Linked DNA regions of Homo sapiens: all the other regions are linked to region 1. The links are contacts of gene promoters, found by promoter capture Hi-C in blood cells and fetal thymus (Javierre and others, 2016). All regions are on one chromosome and are shown on one strand. The core of a region is centred on a gene start or on the middle of the fragment in contact, and the rest is flanking DNA. Distances in the headings are between cores, read along the strand shown.

Region 1 (4,984 bases), core at 992-3,491:
CGAAGCAGATGGATCTGCCACACACCCTTAGCATGCGCCAGTGAAAGGGAGAGCCGCGGGGAGAGGCCTATCACCGGCTCGGGGGCAGTCCTTCCCAGACCCGAGGTAGCCACCAGCGTGTAGAAATTAGGGGAAGGGGAGAATAGAGACCCCAGGACGGGAATGGAGACCAAATGGGAGCAAGATGACCAGCAAGAGAAACGCATGGGTAGAGATGGACCAGAAAGGAAGATGTAGCTGGGGGAAGAGAAAGAGAGGAGACGGAGCAGGTCTGAGAACGGATGGGAAGGAGGGTGATCAGAAGAGGGCCAGACACCTGTCAGGTGCCAGGGAGCCTCGACACCTCCTTCCCACCCCCACCCCGCACGGCGCTGCCCGACGCCCCTCTTTCGGTACCCCCACCCCCACCTCACTCACCTTTGTTACAGGAGCAGGACGCGAGCAGAGAGGCCAGCAGAAGGGGCAGCAGCAGGAGGGTCATGGTGCGGCGTGGGGCAGGGCAGGGCCAGGCGTTTGCCTCCCCTGGGAGCCTCCAGCCTGCGGATTCCACCTTGCGGGAGGGATACAGGGGGTCTCCAAGGAGCGGGGTACAGCAGGGCAGGGACGGAAAGGAGCCTGCCGCCCACACTAGTCCATAAAGCGGGCCTGGGCAGATCCCAATCTGGGTAGCTGAGGCGGTGGACTTGCAGCGGCTTCCCGTTTCCCCCAGCCCAGCGTCCTCACTCTCTCACTCCCACCCCAACCCCGCTACTGCAGGATGACGTCAGCACAGCCGGGCAACGATTGATGGGGCCGCCGGCCAATCAGGTGACTGGGAGGGGGGGGGACCAGGTGCTGCAGCGGGGGAGGGAGCCAATGAGACTGGGGCGTCGGGGCTGGAGAGTTTCAAGGCTCCTTCCCCTGGCTGCAATTTTGGGGGAGCCGAGGAACTGCGGGGGCTGGGGAGGAAGCTGGAGAGCCACGGAGGGGGTGGGAAAGAAGAGGGACGTGGGGAGAAAGAAGCCAGAAGCCAGGGGGTGGGGAAGAGAGACGTCAGCGGGACCTGAGGGCGGCCAGGAGGGGTGGCACCGCGTCACCCCGCCCCCCAACTCTGCCATAACCTGTTTCCACAGCCCCTTCCATCCACAGATCCGTGCTGCGTGCCCTCTGGGAAGGGTGAAGTAAAACCCTCAGTCTGAGCCTGAGAAATCCTGGCATTTGTAGCCCAGGGCTGCGAGGAAGCCACAGGGCGGTCCGCAGGGCGGTATCGAGGCTCTGGGACCCAAGGAGGGGCAGGACGTCGTGCACCCCTCGCGCACGCACCTGTCGGGACCGGCCGCCTCCTCCTGCCTACCTGTCCTGCCTCCTTCGCCCCGAATTTCACCTTAAACCATGATGAACCAAGCCCAGTGGATTCTGAAGCCCGGGACGATGGCAGGTTCGAGAGAGAATTGGGCAGCTGGGGGCGGGGCACAATATTATTTAGGCGCCTCCACCCCACCTTCACAGAAATACATCTGGAAAGCATGGGCTGTCCTAGGGCTGGGGACTGGGGGTTACGGTCTCATCGATGACTCAGAGGGAGAGAAAACCCCCTGGGTCCCAAGCCAAAAAGAATAAAATTCTCCAGAATAGCCAACAAACTCCTCTCAGGCTGTCTGTTCCGGACTTTGAACTCAGCACCCCTCGGGCTCCACCTCCCTCCTAATGGCTCTTTAGGACCAAGAGTCTGGAATGCCACTTTGGGGTCCCAGTTGAGCACACTACCTGAGGGAGCTCTGAGAGCCAGGCCTACAGGGTGCTCTTCATGGTGGCAGCTGGCCATCCTCACCCCCTCCCCTCACATCTTCCAACATCACTCAGTCCCAGGATCTCAGGATATTGTTGGAACTCATCTCCACCTCACACAGCCAGACCAGCCTCAGGTGTCTCCCAGGAAAGACTGCCCCTCAGGCCCTGGGACGGTTCCCAAGCCTGCCAGAAATGAGGTGGAGGCCAACACTGACCTTTGGATGGCTGAGTTTTGGATGACTGACAGCCCCAGATCCTGCTCCAGGTTCCTTCCTCAGGAAGGATCCTGCTCCAGGTTCCTTCCTCAGGAAAAGCCAAGGTCAGGCGCAACTTTGCCAAATCCCTGCCCCTCCTTCAGGCTGGAGACACCACCCCCAAACTCACCATGCGGGGAGGGAAGAAGTCTGGTAGGGACTCTTATTGCAACAGGGCCCCAGCCTTATAAAAAGCCCTGGTAACCCGGCCATTACACATCCTGTCTCTGTGTGTGGAGCTGGCTGGAATCTCTCAGCCTCACCTGCCAGACAACACCCCCTCCTTCCTCACCCTGTCTCCTGCATTCTCCTGAAACCTTCATCCACACAATGCCTCCCAACCTCACTGGCTACTACCGCTTTGTCTCGCAGAAGAACATGGAGGACTACCTGCAAGCCCTAAGTAATGGCCTCGCCCTCCCAGACCCCTGTCACTCCCTTTCTCCCCTCTTCCTTCCTGCTTCTTGGTCCCATGGAGAAGAGGGAATGCCCGGGGTTGGACACTGTGGAAAGGCTCAGGCGGCTGGCACCAGACCTGGGATCCATTTCTAACCAGGCATTGGTAGGAGGGGGTGAATCCACAGTCCCAGACCCAAAGAAGGGAAACTCACAGCCCTGAGGGGCTGCTGCAGGCAGAGGAGCTCCTGGCTGGCTAGCAGCACCCCTACTAACAGGCAGCCCCCACAGACATCAGCTTGGCTGTGCGGAAGATCGCGCTGCTGCTGAAGCCGGACAAGGAGATCGAACACCAGGGCAACCACATGACGGTGAGGACGCTCAGCACCTTCCGAAACTACACTGTGCAGTTTGATGTGGGAGTGGAGTTTGAGGAGGACCTCAGGAGCGTGGACGGACGAAAATGCCAGGTACATTTCCCCTGGCTGGGCGGTGGCCGGAAGGAGGCATCACAGGAGACTCCTAACAACATGGGGCAAAACAAAGTGACCTTCCCCAGCCAGAGCAGCGGGGAGGAGGGGAATGGTCACCACAGCAGGGAATGCAGTCCCCAGGATACCAGTCTCCAGAACTAACAGGTCCTGGTGCTCCCTGTCTCTCTCCCACTTCTTCCCTGCCCCCTCTTATCACCAGCCCAAAGGGCAAAGAACAGGCCAACCCAGACCGAAGAGCAAACATTTGCCCACCCTCCAGCCTGTGACACTGTTGGTCACCCAGAGTCCCTTTTACTTTAGCATCAATAACTTCACTCTCCTGCATTTCTTTCTACTTCTTACATATTCCTTCTTAGCCTCCTTTGCAGATCCTAGTCCTCCTATTAATCCTTTAAACTGGAGTTTTCTCCGCAGAGTTTTGTTCTTAATGTCTTCTCCCTTTTGTCTGCCCACTATCCATAGGCTAAATCATCTACACCCATGCCTTCTGCTTCCATCTATAGGCTGCCCTTGGCATGAATTCTCCAGCCAGAGCCATCTCCTGAGCTCCAGGGCAATGTTTTCAACTGCCTACAAAATACAGTTGGCCCTCCATATTCATGGGTTCTGCATCCACAGCTTCAGCAAACTGCAAATGGAAAAATATTTGGGAAAAATAAAAATAAAAAATAACAATACAAAATGATACAAATAAAAAACAATACAGTATAGCAACTATTTACAGAGCATGTACATTGCATTAGGTATTATAAGTAATCTAGAGATGATTTAAAGCATATGGGAAAAGGCTGGGCGTGGTGGCTCACACCCATAATCCCAAGACTTTGGGAGGCTGAGGCAGGCAGATCACTTGAGGCCAGGAGTTCAAGACCAGCCTGGCCAACATGGTGAAACCTCATCTCTACTAAAAATACATAAATTAGGCCAGGTGCAGTGGCTCACACCTGTAATCCCAGTACTTTGGGAGGCCAAGGCGGGCGGATCACCTGAGGTCAAGAGTTCGAGACCAGCCTGACCAACATGGAGAAACCCCATCTCTACTAAAAATACAAAAAATTAGGCAGGCATGGTGGCGCATGCCTGTAATCCCAGCTACTCAGGAGGCTGAGGCAGAAGAATCACTTGAACCTGGGAGGCAGAGGTTGCAGTGAGCCAAGATCGCACCACTGCACTCCAGCCTGGGCAACAAGAGCGAAATTCTATCTCAAAAAAAAAAAAAAAAAAAAATACAAAAGTACAAAAATTAGCCGGGCATGGTGGCGCATGCCTGTAATCCCAGCTACTTGGGAGGCTGAGGCAGGAGAATTACTTGAACCCGGGAGCCAGAGGTTGCAGTGAGCCAAGATCATGCCATTGCATTCTAGTCTGGGTGACAGAGCAAGACTCTGTATCAAAATGATAATAATAAAGTACACAGGGGGATGTATGTAGTTTCTCTACAGATACTAAGCCATTTTATTCAGCAGATTTAGTGAGGTGGGGGTCCTGGAACCAATTTCCATTTGAATGCCAAGGTCAAATTCAAATTCACTGTCTTCCTATCCAAACCTACCCCACTTTTATATCTACTCTCTCCACTAATGGCAATAACCAGCCAGGCCAGAGACCTGGGAGTCATGGTCAATATCTCTTGTTTCCTTACCTCTAGGCTCCCAGCACACACACACACACACACACACACACACACACACACACACACACACACCACCACCACCACCACCACCACATCTAATCGGCCAAGAAATCTTTGTAGCTTTTCTGCATTACCCAGTATAGCAGCTGCTAACTTCAGATGGCCGTTGAATACTTGAAATATAACTAGTCCAAATCTAGATGCTGTAAGTGGACTTTCAGACAATGCCAAATAAAAAGAAGCATTTCGGAAATGTTTATATTGGCTGCATGCCGAAATAATAATATTTTGAATATTTTTGGTTAACTAAAATATATTATTTAAATTAATTTCCCCTATTTCTCTTTACTTTTCTAATATGGCTCCTGACCCATTTTATTTCTGTTGAGCATCACTCTTCTAAATGGCTCTCCTGTGTTCCCTCCTAACCTTTCTCT
Region 2 (4,984 bases), core at 817-3,316, 640 kb after region 1:
ATGATGCTTCCTGGTGTAGTGGAACAGAAATGACAATGTAGCAATTCCATGTGAGATGGTCCTTTGAAAGAGCTAGGTACAGTGACAGCTATGGACTCTTACCTCTAAGCTGTGGTGGAAGATGTTTGATGGACAGTACCTCTTGCACAACATACTGATTCACCCCTCCACTTTTCAACAACTCCTCTGGGGATAATGGCAGATGGAACTCATACATTTGGGGAGCCATTCTACTCCTACAGGCTCACAGGGCTAGAAACCAAACAGTGAAAAAGTCAGGGTCTATATTCAAGACCTGTCTTCGTATCTGGTTCTATTACTTTCCCATCCCCAACATATATAATGGCTTTTAGTTTTATAGCAAGCTAGTAACATCATCTGGTTTTGTTAGTTCCCCACCCCCAACATATATAATGGTTTTTAGTTTTATAGCAAGCTAGTAACATTATCTTACGGGATCTGAGATTGACCCTGGACTAGAAACTAATTCTAGTAGTGACTTTGGCACTTGGTCTTGACACTTAAACCTCTGGGCTTTATCTGTAAAAACAGGGTTACTAAACTCTGATTACTTCACAAAGTTGCTCTGATGATCAAACAAATCAAGCAGTACGAAGGTGTTTAAAGAACTATAAAGTGGCATATTAATGTGCAAAGTACTATTATTTCCATTTTTATGTGCAAAGCTCCTTAAGTATAGAGAGAATGGTCTGATCTCGTCTGAGGCCAAAACAGTGCCCCAGCATGGGCTAGTGGGCTTCCTGCACCAGAATGGTAAGAGCATTAACAATGATGATTTATTTATCCTGTGCCAAGTCTGTTAGGCTGTTTGCATGTATCATATCTGATCTAAGTATCCTAACCTCAATCCCATGAGGTGCATAATAATACAAATGAGTTTACAGAGCGGAAATTGAAGTAAGAAAGTTAAGCGATTTGCTTAACATCTTCCGTTGCGGATCTGTTAAGCGATTTGCTTAACATCTTCCGTTGCGGATCTGTTAAGCGATTTGCTTAACAACTTCCGTTGCGGATCTGTCAGACTTACAGTTTCTCACACATCGCGCCCCAGGGATATACTTACTAGGCCTATTGTATTTTGCCCAAGACTGGGTCACACTGCCATGTACTCGACTTTCCTACTCTTTTACGACCTGCAACACCACATCTTACCTGGGGATCTCACCCGCGGCTCTGATTCCGGCAGTCAGGCTGAAATGAAAAGGAAAAAACACGCGTGCACAACACGCACCAATTAGCAAGGCAGTTTTCAAGTCGGCGGAGAATCCGGCCAATCCCCGGCAGGCAGAGGCAAAGGGCCGCCTCTGAGTCTGGCAACGCGCGGGCAAAGCCACAAATACCGAGTTCAAATCTCAACGGCTGCAGGACGGCCAATCGCGACGCCCGCCGGAGCGGCCGGCCAATCACAGCGCCGCCCGGGGGCGGGCCAAGGCTCCGGCTCCGGCCCCCGCTCCCACCCCCGGCCCGCCTGCGAATCCCTCCTTGGCCGCAAGGTCCCCCTTTGCCCAGTCGGCGGGGAGGAGGCCGTATTTCTGCTGGCCAGAGACGTCGCGTCCCTGGCTGGGCATTCAGTCACCCCCAGGAAAGGAGGCAAGTCCACGCTGGGAGTTAGAAGGCATCGCCTCTAATCCAGGTTTCGCCATCTCCTCTGCTAAGTGACGTCCAGCAAGTCACTTCACTTTCAGGACCTCAAATCTCCTCCCCAGTAGTAAAATAGGGGTAATAAAAACAGCTACAGCGGAAGACTGTTGTGAGGCACAGAGAAAGGGCTTGGTCATTGGAAGCGGGTTCCAGGTTCTCAACCTTCATTTCCTTCACGGTTGAAGGACGCCAAAGAAAGCGGAAAGGGTGAATTTTCTTGAAATCTCAGTTTTGGGGAATCTTAGCGACGAGTCGCGGACCTCAGCTTGTCCGGCGCTCCAAAACTTCCGGCAGGCGGACCGGAAGCACTGAGGCGGGAAGGGTGGTAGAGGCCCCTCCTGCCGGAACCCGGGGGGCGGGGCTCGTGGCTGTTGCGGATGGGGCGTAGGTGGGCGGTGCGCCCACAGCTGCCTGGGTAAGGCCCAAGATGGCTGTCTTCGCCTTAGTACTCGTGTGAAGTTGGCGGGGACGGTTCCTGTCATCTTCTTGGGCTTATTTGGTGTGCTGTTGAAGGGGGGAGACTAGAGAAATGGCAGGGAACCTCTTATCCGGGGCAGGTAGGCGCCTGTGGGACTGGGTGCCTCTGGCGTGCAGAAGCTTCTCTCTTGGTAAGTGGCTGATGTAGGCACCCCGATAACTGCTTCGTAGTATAATAGGCGGCTCAGATTAATTCCCTCCCTTCCCCATCCCCAGGTGTGCCTAGATTGATCGGTATAAGGCTCACTCTCCCGCCCCCCAAAGTGGTTGATCGTTGGAACGAGAAAAGGGCCATGTTCGGAGTGTATGACAACATCGGGATCCTGGGTAAGACTTGACCTTCGACGTGGTACACAATTTCAGAATGGCAATTAGGCTGTAACGACTATCTTTTCCTCCTGTGTAGAGAGTGGTACTGTGCTCAATAGTAAGAGCAAACACTTATGTAGCTGTTTACATTGTGTTTGGCACTGTTCTGAGTCCCCTCGTATAATTTTTACTTCATAAGTAAAAATAAACAGTTTTTCCAAAGTTAATAAATGGCAGCATCAGAATTTTAACCCCAAGCAGTCTGGCTCCAGAGTCTGTGCTATTGTTCTGTACTGTAATGTTCCTTGTCTATAGGTGCTGCTCAGCAAGATGCAACCGTGGGTTGAAAGCTTAGCTGGTGTAGGATGAGTTCTCTTGTCTTGGATCTAATGTGTTCTCTCACATTACACAGGAAACTTTGAAAAGCACCCCAAAGAACTGATCAGGGGGCCCATATGGCTTCGAGGTTGGAAAGGGAATGAATTGCAACGTTGTATCCGAAAGAGGAAAATGGTTGGAAGTAGAATGTTCGCTGATGACCTGCACAACCTTAATAAACGCATCCGCTATCTCTACAAACACTTTAACCGACATGGGAAGTTTCGATAGAAGAGAAAGCTGAGAACTTCGGAAAAGGCTCATCTGTCACCCTGGAGAAGGGAAACTGTACTTTTCCCTGTGAGGAAACGGCTTTGTATTTTCTCTGTAATAAAATGGGGCTTCTTTGGAATTTGATAGCCACATACTTTTGTTTTCCTCTAGATGCTGCCTCTACTCATGTAGACTATGAAGTCTTGACTCATCCTAGATCTTAGGATCTTAGGTTTGGGCTTCACACCACTTGCCTTTTACAGTCTAGCTATACCTAATTCCTTTAAAAAGAAAAGTTGGTGAGAATGTTATTGGCGCTTTTTGACATAATGCTGTTATGTTAATAGTGTTTCTAAAGAGCCTTCCACACTGAAATGAAATATAAGAGAAAAATGGAGTCATACTTCTGTACTACTCTCATAAAATATTTATTAGGCATATTCTCTGAGTAGGAACTATAGGAAAAACAAAAAAGTGTGAGGTGTCCTTTCCATTTAAATATGAAACATTAAGTACCATATGAATGGTAGAGATGGCGGATACTAAGCCTGACTGGTCATCAGTTTTCTGGGTGTTTTAACATTTCAAAAGCCTAGTCCTAACCCCTAAAGATTGATCAGTAGAGCTGAGTTGAGTCTAGGGCATCTATGTGTTTTGTTCTTTTTTAATAATAATTTTTAAGAATTACAGCTGGGCAGAATGGTGCCCACATGTAATCCCAGCATTTTGGGAGGCTGAGGTGGGAGGATTGCTTGGAGACAGGAATTTGAGACTGGTCTGGGCGACATGGTGAAACTCCGTCTCTACTAAAAATAAAGTGGCTGGGTGCGGTGGCTCCTGCCTGTAATCCCAGCACCTTGGGAGGCGGAGGGGGGCGGACCACGAGCTCAGGAGATCGAGACTATCCTGGCTAACACAGCCCTGTCTCTACTGAAAATACAAAAACAAACAAACAAAAAAATTAGCCAGGAGTGGTGGCGGACACCTGTAGTCCCAGCTACTCAGGTGTCTGAGGCAGGAGAATCACTTGAACCTGGGAGGTGGAGCTTGCAGTGAGCCGAGATCGTGCCACTGCACTCCAGCCTGAGCAACAGAGCAAGACTCTGTCTCAAAAAAAAAAAAAAAACAACTTAGCTGGGCATGGTTCTGCATGCCTGTAGTTCCAGCTACTCATGGTTCTGCGTGCCTGCAGTCCCAGCTACACAAGAGGCTGAGGTGGGAAGATCACCTGAGCCCAGGAGTTTGAGGCTGCAGTGAGCTGAGATCATGCCACTGCATTCCAGCCTGAGCAACTGGGGTGAGACTGTCTCAAAAAAAAAAAAAAAAAAAAAGTGAAGTTAGGGCTGGGTGCAGTGGCTCACACCTGTAAGCCCAACACTTTGGGAGGCCAAGGCATGAGGATTGCTTGAAGCCAGGAGTTCAAGACCAGCCTGGGCAACATAGCAAGACCCCATCTCTATATTTTAAAAAACAAAAACTCCATAAAAGTGAAGTTAGATTAATAAATACTTGTTGCGGGGCATGGTGGTTGGAGCACACTTATAATCCCAGCTACTCTGCAGGCTGAGGTGGGAGGATCCTTTGAAACCAGGAGTTGGAGGCCAGCCTTAGGAACATAGCAAGACCCCATCTTCAATAAAAATAAAAAGCACTTGTTAAATTACAAGTGGGTTTTGGATAAATGGATTGATGGGTATATATGAAAACATGATCCTGGGTCTTACGGAAATGTTTAGGAGAGTCAGTTTTCAGAGGGGTGGCTGGAAGGAGCTATGCATAAGAATGGAGAAGTTGATGTGAAATGTGAGTGGCTGTATACTTTACATGATTTGGTGGTGCTAGAGTGGAGAAAATAAAATATTTGGGACTCTGCTAAGTGCAAGGTGCCCTGAAGAAGATATCTACATATCCTGGTAGAGTATCTGATTGTTAGGGAAGAGGAAAT
Region 3 (4,984 bases), core at 1,659-4,158, 520 kb before region 1:
CAGATGATCTGCCCGCCTCAGCCTCCCAAAGTGCTGGGATTACAGGCGTGAGCCACCACACCGGGCCTATTTTTAATTTTTATTTTTGAGACAGAGTTTTGCTCTTTTGCCCAGGCTGGAGTGCAATGGTGCGATCTTGGCTCACTGCAACCTCCTCTCCCCAGGTTCAAGTGATTCTCCTGCCTCAGCCACCCGAGTAGCTGGGATTATAGGTGCCCGCAATCACACCTGGCTAATTTTTGTATTTTTGGTAGAGACAGGGTTTCACCATGTTGGCCAGGCTGGTCTCAAACTCCTGACCTCAGGTGAACCACCTGCCTCGGTCTCCCAAAGTGCTAGAATTACAGGCGTGAGCCACCGCACCCGGCCTCTAAGAGGCTTTAAGAAGTGACTTTCCCATTGTGCTTAATCATTTTTGTTGAAGCCTTAAGGCAGACTACCTTGTTTGGGATTGGGCATCTGGGAAAAGAGATTTTGGCAGAGTCCTTAAAAATCTTGCTTTTCTTGGGTACAATGAGCTGGTCCAATACAATTAATCCATGAGAGAATCTTCAAATTCCATTTTCTGAGATGATTTGGAGGTTTGGAATAATAGAGCACTTTTTCTTAGCAACTCATTTGATATTTGAGTGTTGTTTGACATAATCATATCTTGGTCAACAGGTCCTTCAACCGGTGACCCCACTCTGAGGTAAGAATAACACTATCACAGTGCCCATTTAATTTGATCAAGAATCAATGGGTATTTAAGAGCTGTGCATGGTGGCACATGCGCCTATAATCCCAGCTACTCAGGAGGCTGAGGCAGGAGTAGGAGGATCGCTTGAGCCCAGGAGGTCAAGGCTGCAGTGAGCTATGATTGCACCACTGCACTGCAGCCGGGGTAACAGACTGAGACCCTGTCTCAAAAAAAAAAAAAAAAAGGAACTGTGGATATAGCTTTCTTTATTGTTCCTTTTCTCTTTTGCCATTTTCCATTCTTTCTTTCATTTTTGCCTTTTCCAGTTTCATTTTCTATGGTTATTGTTTTTTATATCTTTGCTCTTATGTCTTTTGATCTCTTTAAATAAATGATTTTCTAGCTTGCTTATCTGTTATTGTCTTACAATTTCTCTTCTTTTTTTAAATCGCATGCTTTTATAGCCATTAGTGAAATACCTGGGAAACTCATTTGTCACTTTAACTTCATCTTCGTTTTATAATGTCTGCCCATTTTTCAGACATAGGACAGGGAAGTCATGTTAAGGAATATATTATCTCTTGATAGGTGGAAGGATTGATCTATGTAGTAAATGAATGTGATACTTTAGGGATGAGTGGGAACTATTAGGATGTAATAAGCTTGTGACTTAACCATATTGCAAAGAAGAGTCTGCAGTTCAATTCTGAGTTTCCCTTGAGTTACAGCTTTCAGACATAGAGAGTGTTAAATCTAAAGACACCACTGAGAGCAAGTAGAATTTCTTTCTTATAGGAGTTAGTATATAGAATCCTAATGTGGAAGAATCTTGAGGCTAAATTGCTCTTTTGTCTGTTCTTGACAATACAATCTTGTTGGCAATTTGAGGCGTCAACACTTGAGAAAATCTGGTTAGAGTCCATTGAGGAATAGAAAAGATAAGGATTGGAACATAGCACCTCTAGGTGTAAAATAGAAAAGTTAGAATATAGCTAGGCATGGTGGGGCACACCTGTGGTCTCAGCTACTCAGGAGGCTGAGGCAGGAGAGTAGCTTGAGTCCAGGAAGGGGAGATCAGGCTGGCCAGCTTAGAGAGACCATGTCTTAAAAAAAAAAAAAAAAAAAAAGGGTTAGAATATAATGAAGGAAAATTTAAAAGAGAAACAAAGACACGCTTACACCTGAATTCAAGACTAAAACATAATGGTATTAGAGAGTGGTCACCAAATAATGTGACTGGGGGAAGAAACCTGTGCACTATGTTTGTGAGAAAAAAAAATCTGATAATTCAAACAGACCTCTTCAGATAACTTTGAGACATATACTAGAAAAAGAAGTTTCCTGAGATGTTATGTCTCAGATCAGCCTGATAGAAGAGGGGAGCAGAGGCTGGGCGTGGTGGCTCACGCCTGTAATCCCAGCACTTTGGGAGGCTGAGGTGGGCGAATCACAAGGTCAGGAGTTTGAGACCAGCCTGGCCAACATGGTGAAACCCCGTCTCTACTAAAAATACAAAAAAATTAGCTGGACATGGTGGCGGGAGCCTGTAATCCCAGCTACTTGGGAAGTTGAGGCAGAAAAATCGCTTGAACCTGGGAGGTGGAGGTTGTGGTGAGCTGAGATTGCACCACTGCACTCCAGTCTGGGCAACAGTGTGAGACTCCATCTTAAAAAAATAAAATAAAATAAAATAAAATAAAAAAAGAAGAGGGGAGCAGGAAAAGATTTCTAAGATCTCTCTAAATGTGGCATGACAGTGTGGGCTGCTTTTTGTATTTCAGGAGAAGAATCGAACCCTGGGAGTTTGACGTCTTCTATGACCCCAGAGAACTTCGTAAAGAGGCCTGTCTGCTCTACGAAATCAAGTGGGGCATGAGCCGGAAGATCTGGCGAAGCTCAGGCAAAAACACCACCAATCACGTGGAAGTTAATTTTATAAAAAAATTTACGTCAGAAAGAGATTTTCACCCATCCATGAGCTGCTCCATCACCTGGTTCTTGTCCTGGAGTCCCTGCTGGGAATGCTCCCAGGCTATTAGAGAGTTTCTGAGTCGGCACCCTGGTGTGACTCTAGTGATCTACGTAGCTCGGCTTTTTTGGCACATGGATCAACAAAATCGGCAAGGTCTCAGGGACCTTGTTAACAGTGGAGTAACTATTCAGATTATGAGAGCATCAGGTAAAAACAGTAAACAAAGAAACTTCATTGTTTACAACAGACTGTGGTGATAGTAGCTGTTTTTAGGCCAGAAGATTGGTTAGCCCAGGCTGGAAGTCTCAGAAGTAAAAGTCCAAAATAATGTCATAAAGGACTAGGTCTGAAATTCATGACAAGGAAAGTTACAAAAATACAACTCCTGGCTACGCATGGTGGCTCATGCCTATAATCCCAGAACTTTGGGAGGCCAAGGCAGGAGGATCACTTGAAGCCAGGGGTTCAAGATCAGCCTGGGCAACATAGTGAGACCCCATCTCTAAAAAAAATTTAAAAATCCGGCCAGGTGCGGTGGCTCACGCCTGTAATCCCAGCACTTTGGGAGGCCGAGGTGGGCGGATCATGAGATCAGGAGATGGAGACCATCCTGGCTAACACGGTGAAACCCCGTCTCTACTAAAAAATACAAAAAAATTAGCCAGGCGTGGTGGCGGGCGCCTGTAGTCCCAGCTACTCGGGAGGCTGAGGCAGGAGAATGGCGTGAACCCGGGAGGCGGAGCTTGCAGTGAGCCGAGATCGCGCCACTGCACTCCAGCCTGGGCGACAGAGCGAGACTCCGTCTCAAGATAAAATAAAATAAAATAAAATAAAAAATAAAATAAAAAAATCAGACAGGCATGGCAGCATACACCTTTAAAGGCTGAGGTAGGAAGATCTCCTGAGCCCAGAAGTTCAAGGCTGCAGTGAGCTATGATTGGACCACTGCACACTGGCCTAGGTGACAGAGCGAAACCCTGTATCAAAAAACAAAAACAAAAACAAACAACAACTCTTTTTTTTTTTTTTTTTTGAGACGGAGTCTTGCTCTTTCGCCCAGGCTGGAGTGCAGTGGTGCAATCTCGACTCACTGCAAGCTCCACCTGGGGTTCACGCCATTCTCCTGCCTCAGCCTCCCCAGTAGCTGGGACTACAGGCGCCCACCACCACGCCCGGCTAATTTTTTGTATTTTTAGTAGAGACGGGGTTTCACTGTGTTAGGCAGGATGGTCTCGATCTCCTGACCTGTGATCCACCCCCCTCGGCCTCCCAAAGTGCTGGGATTACAGGCGTGAGCCACCGCACCCAGCCAACAACTCTTTTCTCTAGTCTTGCCTCTCAGCCATCTTTAAATGAACTGCTTTATTCTTTTTAGGGGGTCTAATGTCCAGCAGCAACTAGACTAGAGACTACAGGCTTTCTATACGGGAAGCTAGGTTGGGGATCTTCTTAAGTAATTTACCATTGTGCTTGTTGAATGAGCCAAGATTTGTGTTTCCTTAGAGTATTATCACTGCTGGAGGAATTTTGTCAACTACCCACCTGGGGATGAAGCTCACTGGCCACAATACCCACCTCTGTGGATGATGTTGTACGCACTGGAGCTGCACTGCATAATTCTAGTAAGTCACTTTAGGGACACAAATGTTGATGCAAAAAGAAGCATCCTTCTTCAAAGGTCTTTCCTGAGAAAATTTGACTCATATCTTCTTTTTGACATTTATATTGAGATTTAGTTATTTAACTAGCTAGCTCCTCTTAAGAAAATCTCAGAGCCAGGTATGGTGGTGCACACTTGTAGTCCCAGCTACGCAGGAAGCTTGAGTCTAGGCGTTGCAAGCTGCAGTGAGCTATGATCACGCCAATATGCTCCAGCCTGCGTGGTATAACAAGATCCTGTTTCTAAAACACAGCTGGGTACAGTGGCTCATGCCTGTAATCCAAGCACTTTGGAAGGCCAAGATGGGAGGATTGCTTGAGACCAGGAGTCTGAGACCAGCCTGGCCAACATAATGAGACCCCCTCTCTATAAAAAAGAAAATTATGTATCAAACAAAGTAAACAAACAAGCAAACAAACAACATCTAAGCCTAAGAACAAGAAGTGTGTTTGTGGGAGGTAAGTGGAGAAGGGAATTTGGGTAAACCGATCTAAGATATGGGTGGTCCCCATATTAATTACATTTTATCATTTTTATTCTTATTTTATTATCATTATCTTTTAAGCCACAGGGTCTCGCTGTGTTGCCTAGGCTGGGGTGTAGCGGCTATTCACAGGCACCATCACAGCAACCCACAGCCTCAAACTCCGAATTCCTAGCCTCAAGCAATCCT

Evidence for each region. The method cuts DNA at HindIII sites, captures the fragments that hold promoters and counts their contacts. A CHiCAGO score of 5 or more calls a contact.
Region 2: the fragment with the promoter of MRPL51 here is called in contact with the fragment with the promoter of RBP5 in region 1 in 2 of 17 cell types (activated CD4 T cells and naive CD4 T cells); the score reaches 8.2 in activated CD4 T cells.
Region 3: a contact is called between a fragment that was not itself captured here and the fragment with the promoter of RBP5 in region 1, in 2 of 17 cell types (M1 macrophages and M0 macrophages). The highest score is 6.6, in M1 macrophages.

What each region holds. Positions count from the first base shown.
Region 1 is chr12:7,126,146-7,131,129 of GRCh38, reverse strand. RBP5 (retinol binding protein 5) reads left to right here and starts at 2,241. Exons shown (of 4, transcript NM_031491.4): 1 at 2,241-2,427; 2 at 2,712-2,890. The coding sequence starts at 2,355. CLSTN3 (calsyntenin 3) reads right to left here and starts at 759. Exons shown (of 18, transcript NM_014718.4): 1 at 418-759. The coding sequence starts at 481. RefSeq lists an enhancer at 1-461 and a silencer at 903-1,002. The HindIII fragment of the contact is 14,463 bases long and covers 1-4,984 here.
Region 2 is chr12:6,490,344-6,495,327 of GRCh38, reverse strand. MRPL51 (mitochondrial ribosomal protein L51) reads left to right here and starts at 2,066. Exons shown (of 3, transcript NM_016497.4): 1 at 2,066-2,270; 2 at 2,356-2,466; 3 at 2,861-3,442. The coding sequence starts at 2,192. The coding sequence ends at 3,057. NCAPD2 (non-SMC condensin I complex subunit D2) reads right to left here and starts at 1,226. Exons shown (of 32, transcript NM_014865.4): 1 at 1,174-1,226; 2 at 103-252. The coding sequence starts at 229. RefSeq lists a silencer at 1,269-1,598 and enhancers at 1,034-1,631, 1,799-1,848. The HindIII fragment of the contact is 4,003 bases long and covers 1-2,261 here.
Region 3 is chr12:7,650,312-7,655,295 of GRCh38, reverse strand. It overlaps APOBEC1 (apolipoprotein B mRNA editing enzyme catalytic subunit 1), which reads left to right. Exons shown (of 5, transcript NM_001644.5): 2 at 664-691; 3 at 2,461-2,858; 4 at 4,155-4,273. Among named protein-coding and RNA genes, the nearest start is that of APOBEC1, 13 kb to the left of the region's middle. The HindIII fragment of the contact is 3,129 bases long and covers 1,344-4,472 here.